Regions from separate parts of the Homo sapiens genome. Here region 2 is linked to region 1. Evidence: promoter capture Hi-C in 16 types of primary human blood cells and fetal thymus (Javierre and others, 2016). All regions are on one chromosome and are shown on one strand. The core of a region is centred on a gene start or on the middle of the fragment in contact, and the rest is flanking DNA. Distances in the headings are between cores, read along the strand shown.

Region 1 (2,750 bases), core at 184-2,683:
GATGTAGCCAAACTAAAGTTACACAAAACAGGACCGACACGGTGGCTCATGCCTGTAATCTCAGCACTTTGGGAGGCTGACCCAGGCGGATCACTTGAGGCCAGGAGTTTGAGACCAGCCTGGCCAACATGGTGAAACCCCGTCTCTACTAAAAATACAATAATTAGCCGGGCATGGTGGTGCGGGCCTGTAGTCCCAGCTACTCGGGAGGCTGAGGCAGGAGAATCACTTGAACCCGGGAGACGGAGATTGCAGTGGGTGGAGATCGTGCCACTGCACTTTAGCCTGGGCGACAGAGCGAGACTCTCAAAAAATAAAGCTATACGAAACAAATAATAAATTGTTTCATATTCAGCAAAAAGGAATAATTTGAGTGGGGCCTGGTTAAATGTGGAATACATCTGAGAATTTTATCTCTACAAAGTTTAAAGTGTTTTTGAAGGGAATGGTGTTAACGTGAGGAGATACATGCAATGGCAAAAAGACTTGTTTGAAAACAAGGGCTGTGCTGGACATTACCCAGAGATTAAGTGAATTTAATCAAGCAGAAAGATAAATCAATTGGCCTCCTAAGCTCGGGAATACCAATAAGAATGTGTTCCCTGAACGGGCAATACGCTGTAAGGAGCCCTGTCACGTTTCACACGAAACCTTCCAGGATACCTGAACAGGAAGTACGCGGAGCCCGGGCCAGAGCCTCCCCAGGCGCGTGGCTCACCAGGCTCAGGCCCTGAAAGACCGGAGCATCCGCGCTGAGGTCAAACAGGGAGATCGACGCAGGAGCCGGGGCTGCATCTGGAGCCGGCGACATGGCTGAGCAGAAATTATTTAGCAGCAGCTCCTGGAGTAGAAAGCGTGTAAGAAACAGGGCTCCTGCAAACGAGATCCTACTGCTGCGTCTCCTGCCTGCCTGACTTGGTTTCTCCTGCACCGCAAGACTTCTCGTCTCTCATCCTGCTACCAACTGTGAGATGAATACCTTGGCCCCCGTCCACTTTCTCAAACCCCCAGTCTCAGCCCACAAAAGAATGAAATAGGCATTCGGCTCCCAAATCGAGTCCAACAGAGTTAAAAATCACTGAGCTTGCCTAGCCGAACTTTCTTCGTTACCCATGCGACCAGCAACAACTGGCCCGCGTAAACTCGCCCACGCCCTTAGAAGACGCACCAAACGTCCCGGGAGCTGAGCGGCTCGCAAGTCCTCAGGTCGATTGCCGGATTTCTGCAACACAACAATCCCCGTCACTACGGAGCAGCGAAGAGGACAACCGGCGGCGTCCGCACCTGAGCCCCGCCCCACGTAGAGCACACTATTGGGCCGCTGACTGTCCAAGACCCGCCTCGAGACTTTAGTCCCGTCCCTGAAGCCGAGAATTGGCCGTTGTGTCTCCGCCCCCCGTGCTTATTGGCCAGCCTGGCTGCGGGTGACAGTGAGTGGCAGACACCCGGCCTAGCGCCGCGGGTCGCGCCGAGCCGAGCCGAGCCGAGCGGAGCCGGCGGAGCCTCTGGAATCACCCGGGTCGCTGTTCCTGAGGTAAGACGTGAGACCGGTTATTGGAATCCCAGGCCCCGTGTCTGGCCTTGCCCAGGGGTGCCTGCGGAGCCCTAAGTGAGCTCGCGGCGGGTAACGGAGGAAGGGGCGCCGCCGGCGGGGCGGGGGCGCGCAGCCGGAATGTTTTGATTGCTGGCGCGCGCAGACGGGGGCGCGCGCGGGCGCCGGGGCCGCGCGCGAGGTTGTCCGCTGTTGGGAGCTGCCAGCCCTTGGCCTGGGGCCGGGCGACCCTGGGGCGAGGTGGACTCCGGTCCACGGTCGCCGCGGCTGGGTGTGGGGAGGCAAGCCAACCCACCCGGGCTATCAGCTGTAAGGCTGACTCGATCCCTGCAACATCCGCAGGAACCCCTGAGCCCAGGCCCAGCCGGCCGGGGCTCCACGGGCCCTGGTCCACACTGACCCTGTGAGTGGTGACTTCCCTGAGGGGCAGGGCTCTCACTAGCCCAGGGAATCCCACCGGGGCCAGGCTGGGCCAAGATCCACGGCCCCCAGGGGCTGCACGGACAGGTGAGTACCACCTCGACCATGCCTGGCTTACAGGACCTAGGGAACCCACAAATTCACCTAGGATCGGGGGTCTACACTGACCCAGTCAAGGTTTCCCATCCAGAAGGTTTGCTCACCGGCTGGATCTTTGGTGCTAGGGAAGTAAGAGAAGGGGTTGACCAGAAAGGTCCTCTTCAGGAAAGACTCTTGAGGTTTTGTGGACCCTGAGAAGTATGTCATTTCTGAGGCTAAGGTAGGGCAATGGAGAAATAGTCCAGAGGCGCCCCTGGCCTCAGGTCTGTACCCACTCATTCTCCATGGGGTCCCTAAGTTACTTCTTGAGACCCTGGAGTTGGAAGAGTGGCCCGGTTTAGCACAGCCAGAGGAAGTGCTCGTAGTCCTGGGCTGGAAGGGTGCTTCTTCCCCACTGCAGCCTTCCTGCCCCATGCTTGGCCTCCTCTTGGTGGGGTGTGGATGGCTGGGAGGGTTGGGTTCCTTTTTATCCCCACTGCCCACTCTCTGGGGCCTGACATCTTCTCCTCCAGCAGCTGCAGAGCATCGAGGGCTGGAGAGGAGCACATACTGTCCATGGAGCTGGTAGGGCCATGTGCTTTTCTCAAACATTTGTTTGTGAAGTGCTTCCAAACTGTTAGTCTCTTGGGAGACCAGGGTTCCCAGGATGGGCGGGGGAGGGACTCTTCTGTCCGTTAAA
Region 2 (2,700 bases), core at 58-2,557, 560 kb after region 1:
ATATGGTGGTCGGGCGTGGTGGCTCACACCTGTAATACCAGCACTTTGGGAGGCTGAGGCGGGCAGATCACCTGAGGCCAGCAGTTCGAGACCAGCCTGGCCAGCATGGTGAAACCCCATCTCTACTAAAAGTACAAAATTAGCTAGGCATGGTGGCGCATGCTATAATCCTGGTTACTGGGGAGGCTGAGGCACGAGAATTGCTTGAACCTGGAAGGCGGAGTTTGCTGTGAGCCAAGATTGTGCCACTGCACTCCAGCCTGGGCAACAAAGCGAGACTCTGTCTCAAAAAATAAAATTCAATTAAAAATAAAATAATTTCAAAAATATGATTACTTACAAATAGTGGTGAGTGCTCAGAAGGAAAGAGAATGCTGCAATAATGAATCCCAGGGGGGGCCTACTTGCTTGGGTACAGACAAACGCCTAGAATAAATGTGGCTGGAGGATATGTGCAACAAAATCCCACTGCTAACCACTACGTCCTGGTGCCAAATCCTGACTCCCCACAACCTTTATTCTTACTGCCCTCTTTCTGGTACCATTACACTGGCCCTTCTTCCCTAAAGGTATCTAATAACAATAATGTTAATAATAGCTAACTATTCAAACACATTACATGACTTAACACTCTTCATCATAGACTTATCAGGCAAACATGATTATTATCTCCATTTTACAAATTAGGAAACTAAGCACAAAGAAATTAAAGTAACTTGTCCAATGAGACCCAGCTAGGAAGGAGCAGAGCCAAGCTTCCTGCTCAGATATTTTGACTCCAACGTTTACATAATTTACTCCCACACTACACTGCCTCTATATACCTAGACTCTTATATTCTTCTCAGAAGTCTTTGAAATGGAGACTCTCAGTGTCCTTAGCTTGCTCTACCAGTTCTCTAACCTGGAGAGAGGTCGGAGGTGGGGAGAAGTTGAAGGCAGAAAGCATACCTGGTCTTCAGGAAGTTTTCCGTCATCTTCTAGGATCTGAAAGAGCTCTCCCTCAGCATAGTCTGTCACCACCACCACCTACAGAGAGAAGGCAGTGGCACTGATGGCTCCAGATTCATGCATTCTGAGGTTGGGAAATTCCTGGAACCCTTGTGCTTGGGGAGACAGGGCCCAAAACTGTCAAAGCACACCTCTTTATCAGTTTCAAAGCTGTCAAGCATATGCACAATGTTGGGATGCCGCAGACCCCGCATTATTTCAATCTCTCGTTGCAAATTCCTCAGCTCCTTCTCTGAGCGCCCCAATTTTGGGATGAACTTCAGGGCCACGACCTGTCAGTGGTAAGGTGAAAAGTTAACGCCTAATCACACTACTGAAAAGATCTAGAATTTCAGCCTTAATCTCAGAGCTCCAGAAGTCAGATTTTAGAGTGTTTGAGTAACTCTTATTATTTCTGTTAGTCTCCCGCTTCCATTTTCTCCATGGTACCCTGGCCTTATCCAGGCTTTCCCCATTCCTCATCCCAGGAGGAAACAGCATCTGCAAAACATTTCCCCTTCTGGAAGAAGTGTTCTGATTTGACCAGCACTCAAGATGAGATTTAGGAGAAAGGAAAGGAAAAAAAAAATGAAGAGGAAATAATAGAGTTCAAGTGGTTTACCTCTTATTACATGGTGTGCTAGAGACTAATAATATTTGTTGTTTACTAACAGCCAGGCACTGTACTAAGTGATTTAATGTGAAAACATATTTAATCCTCAAACTCCATCAATCAGTTGCTGTTCTTATCCCCATTCTAGAGATAAGGAAATTGAGACATAGGGAAGTTAAGTAATTTGTCCATAATTCTAGGGCTAGAAAGCGGTGGAGATGGAATTTGCACCCAAATAATCCAACTTCAAAGCTTATACTCCATAAGAAGTATGAGGGAGTCAGTACCTTAGGAATACAAACTGGTATAAATACATTCCTTCTAGATCCATTTTCCACTGGAGTTGGGGGTACCAAATCCCACCCAAAAGGTATCCCTCTTTGTGCAACACCTGAGCACTGTATTTTCTTCGACCCTTGTACACCCTCCCAAAAGAGCCTTCTCCAATCATCTCCAACACGTGGTACTTTTCCATGACAGAGGTTTCAGGATCTCTTAGAAGGAAGAAAGTAGAGACGGTGAAGAGCTATAGATCCAGGGACAGTTCCACAACATCTGGGACGCCTAGTTGGGGCACGGGAAAGGAAAAATGTTAGCCACCTTGCCTTTTCCTCTTTTTCACAATAAAGCCTCAAAAAACATGGGAGGGTGGAATGCATGCAAAGATGATGCGCTCTTGGAACAAACAGAGCTTCTCTTTGTAGTTCCTCCCCACTTTCATCCTCCTGTCCCCAACCCGGCCCCATGCCCAACTAACACCTGGTTCCCCTTCTCCCTCACCCAGCCTGGCTCACTCGACCCTACTCTTTCAACCTAGCCTCGCCCAACCAACCCTGCTCCTTTGAGTCTCCCCCAAGTTCCTGCCACTCCCAGACTCCTCAGCACCCGCTCTCAGACCCCCTGGCCCGTGCGCTTCGCAGGCCAGAGCCCCTCTCTCACCCCCAGCCTAGGAGCTCCAAGCTCCTCAGGCCAAGGGACGGATTCCCTGGCGTTTAGCCCCATCTCTTCTGGCTGCCTGCATACGTTGCCTGACTTATAATTCTTCTCCACCCGCCTCTCCCTCCGGTCTCTTTCGGCTCCCTTTCTTACAATTTTACT

What was found. Contacts are between HindIII fragments. The CHiCAGO score rates a contact against its expected background, and 5 or more counts as called.
Region 2: a fragment that was not itself captured here is called in contact with the fragment with the promoter of ATG9A in region 1 in 3 of 17 cell types (naive CD8 T cells, activated CD4 T cells and total CD8 T cells); the score reaches 5.7 in naive CD8 T cells.

Annotation. Positions count from the first base shown.
Region 1 is chr2:219,228,319-219,231,068 of GRCh38, reverse strand. It overlaps ATG9A (autophagy related 9A), which reads left to right and starts at 1,433. Exons shown (of 16, transcript NM_001077198.3): 1 at 1,433-1,534; 2 at 2,584-2,635. ANKZF1 (ankyrin repeat and zinc finger peptidyl tRNA hydrolase 1) reads right to left here and starts at 1,263. Exons shown (of 14, transcript NM_018089.3): 1 at 1,169-1,263; 2 at 664-841. The coding sequence starts at 811. RefSeq lists enhancers at 1,069-1,178, 849-1,396, 1,397-1,944, 1,945-2,493 and silencers at 1,329-1,458, 1,669-1,718. The HindIII fragment of the contact is 5,267 bases long and covers 1-2,750 here.
Region 2 is chr2:218,672,207-218,674,906 of GRCh38, reverse strand. It overlaps STK36 (serine/threonine kinase 36), which reads right to left. Exons shown (of 27, transcript NM_015690.5): 1 at 2,692-2,700; 2 at 1,994-2,166; 3 at 1,142-1,282; 4 at 951-1,028. The coding sequence starts at 2,077. Among named protein-coding and RNA genes, the nearest start is that of STK36, 1.5 kb to the right of the region's middle. The HindIII fragment of the contact is 1,099 bases long and covers 758-1,856 here.